3 separate regions of the Homo sapiens genome follow, and regions 2 and 3 are each linked to region 1. The links are contacts of gene promoters, found by promoter capture Hi-C in blood cells and fetal thymus (Javierre and others, 2016). All regions are on one chromosome and are shown on one strand. Each heading gives the region's core, a stretch centred on a gene start or on the middle of the fragment in contact. The rest is flanking DNA. Distances are from core to core; before and after follow the strand shown.

What was found. The method cuts DNA at HindIII sites, captures the fragments that hold promoters and counts their contacts. A CHiCAGO score of 5 or more calls a contact.
Region 2: a contact is called between a fragment that was not itself captured here and the fragment with the promoter of VEGFC in region 1, in 1 of 17 cell types (endothelial precursors). The highest score is 6.3, in endothelial precursors.
Region 3: a fragment that was not itself captured here is called in contact with the fragment with the promoter of VEGFC in region 1 in 2 of 17 cell types (megakaryocytes and endothelial precursors); the score reaches 8.0 in megakaryocytes.

What each region holds. Positions count from the first base shown.
Region 1 is chr4:176,790,445-176,794,940 of GRCh38, reverse strand. It overlaps VEGFC (vascular endothelial growth factor C), which reads left to right and starts at 2,019. Exons shown (of 7, transcript NM_005429.5): 1 at 2,019-2,776. The coding sequence starts at 2,630. The HindIII fragment of the contact is 3,942 bases long and covers 1-2,876 here.
Region 2 is chr4:176,389,706-176,394,201 of GRCh38, reverse strand. It overlaps a transcript of LOC124900817 not described here. Among named protein-coding and RNA genes, the nearest start is that of SPCS3-AS1, 71 kb to the right of the region's middle. The HindIII fragment of the contact is 1,810 bases long and covers 1,142-2,951 here.
Region 3 is chr4:177,055,031-177,059,526 of GRCh38, reverse strand. No RefSeq gene overlaps it. Among named protein-coding and RNA genes, the nearest start is that of LINC02509, 180 kb to the right of the region's middle. The HindIII fragment of the contact is 369 bases long and covers 2,085-2,453 here.

The DNA of each region.
Region 1 (4,496 bases), core at 770-3,269:
CCAGTCTTCACCCGCTGCTAGGCCTGTGGGTGTTGGAAATGCCTGTGGTTCTCAATTTTGTTTGCCTATTAGAATCCTGATGTCCAAGCCTTACTCCAGTTAGACCAGTTAAGCCAGAAAGGCAGAAGGTGTACTCAAGCATCTGTTTTTTCAAAATCTCCTTTTGTGATGCCAAGTGCAATCAAAGTTTAGAATCATTGTAATAGCAAATGGTTGAATGGAAACTCCACCTTCTATTCAAATCCTACCCCAGTCTGCCCTTAGCTGTTCCCTTTTCACAGATCTATCAATGTCTGAAGATAACTATGGCAGGCTGATCAAATATGCATAGAGCAGGAAGACAGCAAGAGAGTGATACACTGACCATGTTCCAAATCACAAAACATCTCAACAGGCTAGATCATGGACCGAGTCTGATGGGATGGAATTTCATAAAGATACATAAAAAAGCATCTTGGATACAGTAAACTTAACTCCACAAATACAGGGGAATTTAGACGTGACTAAGTAGCAGTACATATGAAAAATTATTGAGGAATTTTGTTGACTTTAAGGGTAGTGTGAGTCAACACTGTGATTTGGCTGCCAGAAAATAAACTCAATCCAAGGCTGTATCAACAAAGGCATACTGTCCATTCTGCATGCTCATTACAGCACTAAGTACCGAGCCATGTTCTCAACCGCATACTTCATGAACATGGAAAGCTAACAGTATGGTTAAGGGGGGAAACTGGAACTGTCATCTTGGGGAATAAAAGGGATATTTAGCCAGGAGTAAAGTTAGCTTAGGGAGACCATGATAAATATTTTCAAAATATTTGAAGGACTCAGTTGTGGAAGTGAGATTAGATTTATTGTGTAAAACTCCAGGAGTCAAAAGCAATAGAGAGATAGAAGGAAATGCTTTTCAGCAGTGTTGCTCATCAATAAAGGGAGTGAACAGCCACACAGAATGGAAGGTTCCCTGTCCTTTGAGATATTTAAGCCTTCAAGTAAATTATGGGTGAGGAGTTTCAAATCTAGAGTTGAACCAGATAAGAAAGTCTCTTCTTCCGGTAAGATATTATGGACCTATAACATCTGTGTACTTAAAAGTAGATTGGGAGTGAAAGGCAGACTTTTGATGTTCTGTACACTGTTGAAACCCCTTAGCGTGGTCCTCTGTAACCTGCTCACCCTGCCCCAAGGAGGCAGCTAGCCAATGCCACCAGCCCAACGGAAACCCCAGTGCTTTTCCAATGGGGAAATGCAGTCACTTTTCTTTGGATGCTACACATCCTTTCTGGAATATGTCTCACACACATCTCTCTTTATCACCCCCTTTTTCAAGTAAACCAACTTCTTGCAGAAGCTGACAATGTGTCTCTTTACTCTCCACGAAGATTCTGGCCCTTCTCTTCACCTGTCAGAAGTTTAGGATTCCAAAGGGATCATTAGCATCCATCCCAACAGCCTGCACTGCATCCTGAGAACTGCGGTTCTTGGATCATCAGGCAACTTTCAACTACACAGACCAAGGGAGAGAGGGGACCCCTCCGAGGTCCCATAGGGTTCTCTGACATAGTGATGACCTTTTCTTGGAACTTTTACAACCCCCAGGACATTTCCAAACTTTGAGCAGGGCTCTGGGGGCCAGGCGTGCGGGAGGGAGGACAAGAACTCGGGAGTGGCCGAGGATAAAGCGGGGGCTCCCTCCACCCCACGGTGCCCAGTTTCTCCCCGCTGCACGTGGTCCAGGGTGGTCGCATCACCTCTAAAGCCGGTCCCGCCAACCGCCAGCCCCGGGACTGAACTTGCCCCTCCGGCCGCCCGCTCCCCGCAGGGGACAGGGGCGGGGAGGGAGAGATCCAGAGGGGGGCCGGGGGAGGTGGGGCCGCCGGGGAGGAGGCGAGGGAAACGGGGAGCTCCAGGGAGACGGCTTCCGAGGGAGAGTGAGAGGGGAGGGCAGCCCGGGCTCGGCACGCTCCCTCCCTCGGCCGCTTTCTCTCACATAAGCGCAGGCAGAGGGCGCGTCAGTCATGCCCTGCCCCTGCGCCCGCCGCCGCCGCCGCCGCCGCTCAGCCCGGCGCGCTCTGGAGGATCCTGCGCCGCGGCGCTCCCGGGCCCCGCCGCCGCCAGCCGCCCCGCCGCCCTCCTCCCGCCCCCGGCACCGCCGCCAGCGCCCCCGCCGCAGCGCCCGCGGCCCGGCTCCTCTCACTTCGGGGAAGGGGAGGGAGGAGGGGGACGAGGGCTCTGGCGGGTTTGGAGGGGCTGAACATCGCGGGGTGTTCTGGTGTCCCCCGCCCCGCCTCTCCAAAAAGCTACACCGACGCGGACCGCGGCGGCGTCCTCCCTCGCCCTCGCTTCACCTCGCGGGCTCCGAATGCGGGGAGCTCGGATGTCCGGTTTCCTGTGAGGCTTTTACCTGACACCCGCCGCCTTTCCCCGGCACTGGCTGGGAGGGCGCCCTGCAAAGTTGGGAACGCGGAGCCCCGGACCCGCTCCCGCCGCCTCCGGCTCGCCCAGGGGGGGTCGCCGGGAGGAGCCCGGGGGAGAGGGACCAGGAGGGGCCCGCGGCCTCGCAGGGGCGCCCGCGCCCCCACCCCTGCCCCCGCCAGCGGACCGGTCCCCCACCCCCGGTCCTTCCACCATGCACTTGCTGGGCTTCTTCTCTGTGGCGTGTTCTCTGCTCGCCGCTGCGCTGCTCCCGGGTCCTCGCGAGGCGCCCGCCGCCGCCGCCGCCTTCGAGTCCGGACTCGACCTCTCGGACGCGGAGCCCGACGCGGGCGAGGCCACGGTAGGTCTGCGTTAGGGTTTGCGGAGAACCCGAGAGTTTGCGTTAGGGTCTGCGGCGGACCCGAGAACCTGCGCGGGGGAAAGTGTGTGTGCTTTAAGCTTGTGTACGTGGGATCCAAAGTTACTGAGCTCAGTGCACGCTGCTTTGGAGAAAAATCTTCTTCTTTTTAAATAGAAAGTTGTTACTAGAGAGGCAAGCAAGTTACACGAGTGAAGGGCCCGGAGAGGTGCCCAGTGAGAGATCCCGAAATCTATTTCAGACTGGTTTCCTCTGGGGCAACCAAGGGGTCTTGAACCCTGCCCAGTCAGCGGGGCTCTGGAGAGTATGAGTTCATTTTGGTCGGGAAATGCTCGTTTCTTTCCCCAGCTGATTCATGGGACTCCAAACAGATTCTGGGACACTGGTGATCAGTCAACCCAGCCTTACTTTCCTGGAGTGTTCATAGTCTGCAGAGCACCAGGCGCTGTGAGCGACTTTAGAAAAAAAGTGTCAGGGACTTTAGTAACCAGGCTCCAGAGCTTTCAGAGTTCACTTGAAGTTGGTCAGACTTGAGATGTAACGGGAGATTAGAGTCAGTTAGATCACAATCAAGCAATGCAAGGCTTGTTTCAACTTTATAAGCTCTTCATTCCTAAAATCTGGTCATGAGATACTGCAAACTAAGTTTTTTTTTTTCTTGTTTGGGTTTTTTGTTTGTTTTGTTTTCTTTTAAATAAGAGGTGTTTAATCCTTTGCCTGAAAATGTTGCCAAAATACTTTTGAGGCATCCTGATTTTGAAAAAGGATTTGTGTGTGTTCCTACTTCTTACTGGCTCTTCCAAAAGAGTATATCTTTATCTAAAAAGTTCATACCTGCCATAACCATATAGAGTATGCTTAAGAGAGTTCCTAAAGAAGTTATATTCGACATTTCAGTTCAAACACTTGCAGTACCCCTTGCTGGAACTATACTGCGGTAGTTTATTTCAACTGGTGGCAAGTGGAGAGGTACCTGTGGTGTGTTACAGTCAACTTTAATTTGACTGTTGATTAACACATACACAATGTGTAGAAAATAGCCTTATATTTTGAAATATTTTATTTATATTTATATTTTGAAATACACTTAAAGATTGAGAAGACTAATTTTTGGAAATCAAACTACCTTTGCATTTAAATTTTGGGAAAACATTAAAATGTTGGAATGTGTAATAATTTAATATAGGGGTTAAAGGAATGCCTCTTGAGTAAAAACAATATACATGAAATAGAACAGACTGCATTCTGTGAATCACAAAAATAATTTTCAGTGCCTATACTTACATTGCCGTAACTATAGTGATGAAAATATCTTTCTGTTCTTAAATACCGCAGAAATGTAATAATCGGCTCAATAACGCTTCTGATAATTTGAGTCCTTGATTTTGCAGTACCTATTTGCTATTTCTGCAAAGTCAAAACTAGTAAAAGTATGATTTAGTAAGGCAACATCTCTGTATTGGTTACGGTCACTTACTTTGGTTTACAGTAAGAAAATGTGCAGTAGAGAGTAAAATGAGAAACATTCCCTGATAAGCCAATAGCCTGTATGAGAGTCACTCACTGCTGGGTGAGTCTAGAATTAATGTACCTTGAGTGTGTGTGTGTGTGTGTTTACGTGTGTTATGTATAGGTATGGGATTGGAGGATTAAAAAAGTTAACTTATTTTTAACTTTCAAAAGTGTCTTCGTTGGTGATGTA
Region 2 (4,496 bases), core at 797-3,296, 400 kb after region 1:
TTTAATGTTTTCTTCCCCTTGCTTTCCTCAGATTTGCTCTTTTTTGTTTATTTAAAATATTTGATTTAAATGCTTAGCTTAATTATTTTTGTTCGTATTTATGAACGCTTGTGATAAATTTACTCCTTAACAGAGCTATGGCAATATTTCACCCATTTTCTTATATACTGTTGAAATCTGTATCTGCTGCCAAGATGGAATGATAGGTGGATAGAAAACACAAAGATGTTAGTAATGGTTATTGCCATGTAGATAGGATTATGCCCTCTTTTAATAGTGCTGTCCTTTCACCACAGCATACCAGGGTGTGGGGTGGTGCTCACCAAACATAGGCAGCAGGGACCTGCCTGGGCTTCTAGGCTGCTGTGGGGCCCTGACAATGGCTGGTGCTTGTGGTGGAGGCGGGAAGATCCTAGTTGTCACTCTATTCTGTACAGTCCCTCCTGGTTCACTAGGCTCGTTTCAAAGCCCGCTGACAATCCTTTCATTACATTCCTTCCTGCTCTCGTCCTCTCAGATTTAGAGGATTCTTTCTAGTCTGGGATGGGAGGAGATGTTTTGTGAATTTTACTGTTATTTATTAGAATTCTCCCACATCTGTTATTTCAGCCCCTGAGAGCCAGACTTCTGAAGTATAAAAGTCAGTAATTTAATCCTGTTGTTTATACTTTCACTGTACTCAATGTATTCAATGGGGAAGGGCTAAATGGAGAAATAAAATACTGTAAACAAAGAAATACATTGGTTAACACTGCAGCTACCTTTCCTAACCACACTATTTTAAGTCACCTCCCCAATTGGATGTCACAGGCTACAGCTTTGAATATAGTATTTCACAGCTTGTTGAATTCAGAACTTTTGTTTCATAACACTTACAGTATTTTAACTGTTTGTAGAACTTTACCACTTTGCAATCTGTTTGGTTTACAAAGGCATCGTAGTTGGAAGTCTCTCAATGATGAAAATGGTATTTTTATAGAATTAAGACTCTCTGAAGCACAGGATGAAAATAATTTCTGATTCTCATAATCCAGTTCAACAAATTTAGGTAAATACTCAGCATTCATCAATTACATCTTCCTTTATGATATCATTTAGGAAGTGTTAAAACCTTTTAAAATCTTCTATAGTTGCCTAAGCTTAACAGCTGAATTTCCTTGTCTTTGAGGTGTGCTCTAATATATGCAGATGCCAAGGAGTTTTCAAAAATTTGAGAGGCTTAATCTTTATTGAACAAGGAACAAATTTTACTTTACAAATTATAATTCTATTGTATCTACTTTTCCTGATATGTACTTTCCTTAACACTATAATCTATCAGACACCCACAAACAGCTCTCTGTACCTTTCTCTACCTGGGCTTAGGACTTGGCCTCAATGTGACATTATAACTGATCTTGTATGACAAAAGTCTCCATAAGTTAAAGGGCAAATGATGGACTGGAAGAAAATATTTGCAATGTATGTAACTGCTAAAAATTAAATTTAGAATATGTAAAGAAATGGTACAAATAAAACAAAAAAAGATAAACATAAGAGGGCAAAGTATGTAAATGGGCAATTCACAGAAGAGGACATATTCTAAAGTTGGGAAAGTGAAAATTAACCAATAATAAAATTGAATGCTCTTTTATATATCATAGTGACACATTTTCAGATACAATAAAATCTAGTATCTACTAGGGTGTGGGGAAACTAGTATTAACTTACAATGCTGGCAGGAACATAATTTGGTACACTCAATTGAAGGTGGCTTGACAATATCTATTAAAATCTTAAATGAACATCTTCTGTGCCCCTGAAATTCTTATTTCTGAAGTGTACCAACACTGAAATATGTCAAAGACTGTTAGCAGGTTTTCTTTCTTTTTTTTTTTTTTTTTTTTTTGTTGTTGAGACGGAGTCTCGCTCTGTCGCCCAGGCTGGAGTGCAGGGGCGCCATCTCGGCTCACTGCAAGCTCCGCCTCCCGGGTTCACTCCATTCTCAGCAGGTTTTCTTAAAGCAAGTTGCAGCAGAAGAATAAACACGTGTATCGCATAAAAAGTGACAAAAACGATAAATGTCCAACTAATAACCATTGTTAGCTGTGTGAAGGATTACAGATAGTTAAGGAGGCCTTTGGATATATCTATATTTTTTTTCTAATTTTTTTAACAGTGAGAATGTATTCATGTGATAGTTGTAAAGTTGAACTTAAAATTCATAATTGAGAACCCAGAAGGGCTTCATAAAAAATAGAGATATTTCCTCTTACTTATTACTTCTTTGTAAAGTATCCTGAAACCTGAAGAAGGAACCCCCTGATGGTGTCTTTCAATAACAGAAATATTTCTTACTGAGAAGTGTTTTAAAAACTGCCCAGCAAGGGCCCCTTCAGTTAAACTTGTATTGCTTAGGCGGGGTCTGTCTCAGCATCAGTGGTTTCTTAAGCTCTCTGGGTAATTTAGACATGCAGCTAGGGTTGAGATCTACAGTCCCACAGGACCCAGCCTCTGCCTATCTTTCCCACCCCTCTTCTTGGCAGCATGGATCTTCTTCCTCTCTTCCAATACATCAAACTTGTTTCCTCCTCAGGGCTTTTGATTTTTCTGTTCTCATTTGTCTGGAATATTCTCTTTCCAGGTCTCCTCATAGCTCACTTCCCCTCTTCACTAAAGGTCTTTAATCAACGTGATCTCATTGGAGAAAACTTTTTTGACCTTCCTATTTAAAATACCTCCCTTCTTCTTGTCCCATCCCCGACCCTACATCATAGCTTTGTGTCCTATTACCATGCTCAATTCTACAGGAAATCTTGTTAGATTATAGGTAATATTTTACATCGAGTTCACTACTTGCCAGATTTGCATGATCAAGGTTCTTTTCTCATTAACTATTATATCCTCAGTAGGAATCTGATAAATATTTGTTGAATGAATGAATATAAAGCAGTAGGACTGTTAGATAAGCTTTCAGAGAATGTGTCAAAGAAGGTGAGAGAGTGGAACTGAGTCTCAAAAAAACTCACTCACTGTTTGGTGGGAGAGGGAGTGGCTGGAAAAGGGCAAGATGCAGGGAGAGAAATATTGCAGAAGAGAAAGGAAGACATAGTGTACACAGGCAAGGAGGCCCTTTGGCACTTTCAACAGCAGGTAGACTATGTGTAGCTGAGATTCAATGGGAAGGTGGAGCTATGGAAATGAATCTTTGCAGGTAGGCAAGTCCCAATCCTGATGGGCATTACGTAACGAAGAACAAGTTGAATTGTATCCAACAGGCAATAGAAATCTAATAAAGGATTATAAGGAGCAGAGTGACATGATGATATTTATCCCCATTAATGCCATCTTAGAATTGACAGCATACGTACTATAGTAATATAGTGTTGGGACTCCGGAGTGAGACCAACCTATGTACAAATTCCAGAATTTACTACTCATAATTTTGGGCAAGTCACTTCACTTTTAAGAAATAGAGTCCTCATCTTAATAATATGGATAATAATGTTTCTGAAGAAGATTTAATAAAATACTGAATGCAAAGAGCTAGCACAAAATCAAGTACATAGTATCTCGGCAATGTTAGCTCTTTGCTTTGGTATGAGACCTCATGGTAGCAAAGGCTAATGTGTTCTGTGTTTCTCCAGCAAAATTTCTCCCAACTGAAATGATGTATAGGTTGATTCTTCACCCAGCCACTTCCCTGTGGTTACAGCCTTCCTCCACTTTACCCCTCATCATTTTCTTTTTCCCTTATTGCTGGGTCTTGAGTCACTCACCAACCAATGTAAAAAATTATGGCTTTCATTGAAAGCCAATCCAATTCTTCCTTAAGCCACTTCTACCTGACCTGCTTCTATTTTTTAGCCATTTCTTCTCTACTTTCCTAACCCTGTTAAACTATCAAGGAAAAATCCTTCACTTTCTTCATTTTCTTTTTTTTTTTTTTTTTTTAAGACAGGGTCTCACTCTGCCCCCAGGCTGGAGTGCAGTGGGGCAATCTTGGCTCACTGCAACCTCCACCTCCCGAGTTGAACCGATTACTCTGCCTCAGTTTCCCAAGTAGCTGGGATTACAGACACCAGCCACCACACCTGGCTAATTTTTTGTATTTTTAGTAGAGACGCAGTTTCATCATGTTGGCCAGGCTGGTCTCAAACTCCTGACCTCAGGTGATCTGCCTGCCTCGGCCTCCCAAAGTGCTGGGATTACAGGCATGAGCCACCATGCCCGGCCAAATCTTTCATTTTCCAAACTTTCATCTATTAAAACACATACCCAGCCAGGAGCAGTGGCTCACGCTTGCAATCCCAGCACTTTGGGAGGCCGAGGTGGACAGATCATGAGGTCAGGAGTTTGAGACCATCCTGGCCAATATGGTGAAACCTCATCTCTACTAAAAATACAAAAATTAGCTGGGTGTGGTGGTGCGGGCCTGTAGTCCCAAGTACCAGGGAGGCTGAGGCAGGAGAATTGCTTGAACCCGGGAGGCGGAGGTGGCAGTGAGCCAAGATTGC
Region 3 (4,496 bases), core at 1,020-3,519, 260 kb before region 1:
GAGGAAATGCCAGTGGTTCTTCCGGATAGTAAAACTTTCTGTTAAATTTCACCTCATTTAGTTTAGCCTAATTACAAAATTTAGGGATGCAAGGTTTGCTCCCATTCTGAATTTCTTCTGAAAACACAAATTTATGAAAGTGTTTAAAAAAATGTTCAACCTCAATAAGAACACTTGGACATAGGGTGGGGAACATCACACACTGGGGACTGTCATGGTTTTCTAGGTTTTCTTCTAGGATTCTTATAGTTTGAGGTATTACATTTAAGTCTTCAATCCATCTTGAATTAATTTTTGTATATTGTGAGATAAGCCCAGTTTCATTCTTCTGCATGTGACTAGCCAGTTGTCCTTGCAGCATTTGTTGAATAGGGAGTCTTTGTCCTATTTGTTATTATCAACTTTGTCAAATATCAGATACTTATAGATGTGGGACTTTATTTCTGGGTCCTCTATCCTGTCATTGGTGTACATGTCATTTTTGGTTTTTTTTTTGAGACAGAGTCTCGCTCTGTCGCCCAGGCTAGAGTGCAATGGTGCAATCTTGGCTCACTGCAAGCTCCGCCTCCCGGGTTCACACCATTCTTCTGTTCAGCCTCCCGATTAGCTAGGACTACAGGTACCTGCCACCACGCCCGGCTAATTTTTTGTGTTTTTAGTAGAGATGGGTTTCACCGTGTTAGCCAGGATGGTCTCGATCTCCTGACCTTGTGATCCACCTGCCTTGGCCTCCCAAAGTGCTGGGATTACAGGCATGATGAGCCACTGCGCCTGGCCACGTGTCTGTTTTTATACCAGTACCATGCTGCTCTGGTTACTGTAGGCTTGTAGTATAGTTTGAAGTCAGGTAGTGTGATGCCCCTGGCTTTGTTCCTTTTGCTTAGGATTGTTTTAGCTATTTGGGCTTTTTTTGGTTTCATATGAATTTTAGAATAGTTTTTTCTAATTCTGTGAAAATCAGCATTAGTAGTTGGATGGGAAAACACTAATCTGTAAACTGCTTTGGGAAGTGTGGCCATTTAAACAATATTAATTCTTCCAATCCATGAGCATCGAATGTTGTTCCATTTGTTTGTATCATCTATGTTTCTTTCAGCTATGACAAACCCACCGTCAATATTATACTGAACGAGCAAAAGCTGGGAGCATTCCCCTTAAGACCTGGAACAAGACAAGGATGCTGACAATCACTGCTCCTATTCAACATGGTATTGGAAGTCCTAGCCAAAGCAATCAGGAAAGAAAAAGCAATAAAAGTCTTCCAAACAGGAAAAGAAGAAGTCAAATTATTTCTCTTAAAACTGTTGATATGATTCTATATCTAAAAAACCCTATGGACTCCACCAAAGGGCTTCTGGAGCTGATAAATGATTTCAATAAAGTTTCAGGATTCAAAATCAATGTACAAAAATCAGTAGCATTTTATATACCAATAATGTTCTAGCCGAGAGCCAAATCAGGAGTGCAATCTTTTACAATAGCCATACCAAAAAAAAGAAAAAAACTTTGGAATACATCTAACCAAAAAAGTGAAATATCTACAAGGAGAACTACTAAACACTGCTAAAATAATTTTCTATTAAAAAATAAGTAGATTGTTAAGATACTGGATGTTTAACACCTCTAATTCCAAGAAACTCAAAGCAAAAAAAAAAAATCATTCAGAAAATAATCTGCTAATATCTCCATGAGGAAGTAAGATACATAACCTATGCATAAGCTCAATAAGTTAAAGGTTAGTTTTAAAATATATCAAAATCTGTATTAATACTGTAGAGATTGCTTCACTTAGCTACTAACTCATTTGTTCCTTTGTTTTAAATGTGTGATAGAAAAGTTTTGGGATGTCTCTGGAATTTTGATTGTATTTCCTATGCCAAAAAGTCAACTTTCAGGGCATTAATGAATAGCTCATGCGTAAGTCTTAATTGTTATAATAAAAACATTTTTCTTCCCTTTAGGTTTTATCCAAGGTCTTGTATGTTTTATGGTTATAAGCAAAAACAGATTGGCAGAGGTCAGTTTCCCTGCCAACCTTAAAGATAGATGCAAATTGCTTGAGGAGCATTATTTTAAGCCAAGCTTGGCTTGTTTAATCAAGTTCATAGTAAAGAGATGGTAACTAGCTGGAAAACAGCCAACACACGAGTCAAATTAAATTATTCATGTTGTCCCTTCCACACTGCTTTTATAATTAGAGTAGCAGCATGACACTGAGGGAAATGCATGAGCTTTGAATTTAGAAATGTAGGCGCTTGAAAGTATGCAAATAAGCCTTTATGAGCCTCAATGTTTTCAACTGTAAAATGGGGAGATGTGTACCTTTTTTGTGGCTTGTTTTAAATGGATGAAATGAGATAATGTACTTATAGTGCTTGGCATTAAATATGCTTGAAAATTAGTAGTGAACATTATTACCTTTTAATCTAGACCATTCAAGATAAAGCAAAGCTTGGTGTTTGATTGTATATCTCTGCCTGTCCTTATAATCCTGGTGGTTAAGCATCTTCATAAAATACTGTCTCTAAAATGTAAGCAATAAAATTTGGATTTATTTTATGTAGGATTCTTTAAGGTAGTCAAGCATGAAAGTGAAAAGTTCTTCGATGGCCTTTTTCCATTTAATTCCTCAGATGTAGAAAACCAAAAAGATTCACAACTATATTATGTTAATGATCATAGTTCCAAAATGTCCTAGAACTACAATAAATAACCTATGATGTCCATAATCATTTTGTGACTCACTGTTCATAACCAAAGGACTTCCCTGACATTTATATACTCTGTTAAACCACCCATATCTGTGCCAAAAAAAAAAAAAAAAAAGACACTCACAAGCATGTCTTAAACTAATCAGAGCAAGGCCATTCAAGCTTATTGCCCAAAGCCTGTCAGAAGACTCAGCACAGGCTGTTATTCAATTATGGAGAAACTAGCTTATTACTCTGCATTAATTAAGTGTAAAATTATGAATTGTGTCTCTCTATATATCTTGACACTGCAAAGTGATGCTAGTGGAATAATTATTTTTATATCCTTTAATAACTTAATATATATATTTAAGGGTGGCATAAATGTCTCTTGACTATGTTTTCTTCTGATAGACATCAGCATGTAACTATATTCAGCAGCTGATGAACTACAGTCACCTGACTCTTGAACCCAATCGGGCTTGCACTGTAAGCATCCACAAAGGGAAATGTTCCTTAGACTCCAGGAAGGCTGGGGAGTCCATAACCTGCTTCAAGGTCTTTTCTTAAGGAGAGAGGAGAGGAGGTTGTGCATCAGAGGCATTGGAAGGAAGCAGAATCACATTCCTGTGAGACAGTTTTAGAATGTTAGCCTTGCAGTTCTTAAAATCATGTGGTACTTTGCATTATTAAAATACAAATAACCCTGAGAGGGCTAACACTTTAATCCATTATCAGACCACAAATGGAGGCAGCATTTAAGCAGCAGGCTGAGCAGAAATGTGCATTGGCAGAAAAGGAAGAGTAGGGCAAAATTGTTCCTACTTTACTTCTCAAGTTTGTCTCAGCTCAATTCTGACCCAACTCTACCCCTATAAAACAATAAAAAAGGAAAGATTCTGGTTGACAAATGATGACTGTATGGCCTCCCTCACCCTCCCTGACCCCCACCCCAGGACACTTAAGATGATTGAAAATAATGCCAACATTATGCTATTATCAGAACAATGATTAGATTTTAAATATATCTTGCGTCATTGGAAAATTAATTACAGTCACTAACACATTAGTATATTATCCAAAGCTTGATTTGAATTCTATCCTGCTAAAGTACTTGGGATAAATCTTCACCATTTGATGATCACAACATACCTCTTATGGTGTGTCTCTAGAAAACTGAGAAACATTTTAAACTAAAAATAATGGAGTTCACCTCCATCAGATAATGGCAAGTTAAAATTAAAAGTTAACATCAGAGTATAAATATGTGACTATTAATATTATTGAAACATAAAACAAATGCCAGTTTAAGGGACAGAATATAGTGACGATGATGACAGAGGGCTGCTACTTACCGCAGAAGGAAGGAGTTATGCCTGGGGAAGTTGTCTGAGGTTATGGGGTGAAACTGAAGAGGTTTTCATATGCAGCATGTTTCCCTGAAATGAGGAGAGAATTACTATTGCTATAAACCAGTTTAGCAACACTTTATAAAATAGAATCTGGGTCTTCAGTTAGCATCATGGTCATAATAGAACTTCTAAATTATTAACTAAATTTACAGGCATTTTGGAATATTCATATACATAAGGGAAACCTTGAAAATTTCCCTTAATGATGTCTCTGAGATGTGCAGGGAAAGGAGGAAGCTGAGTTAGTGTAAGGCTCTCTGGACAAACCCACCGCCCAATTAGGAACTACTAAACTTTAGTGTCTACTAAATAAAACACTGGTTTCCAAATAGTAAGACAAGCCCAGTTACCTGCTAAGAATCTTGTAAAAAACTTGTCCATAAAAAAATTCTTA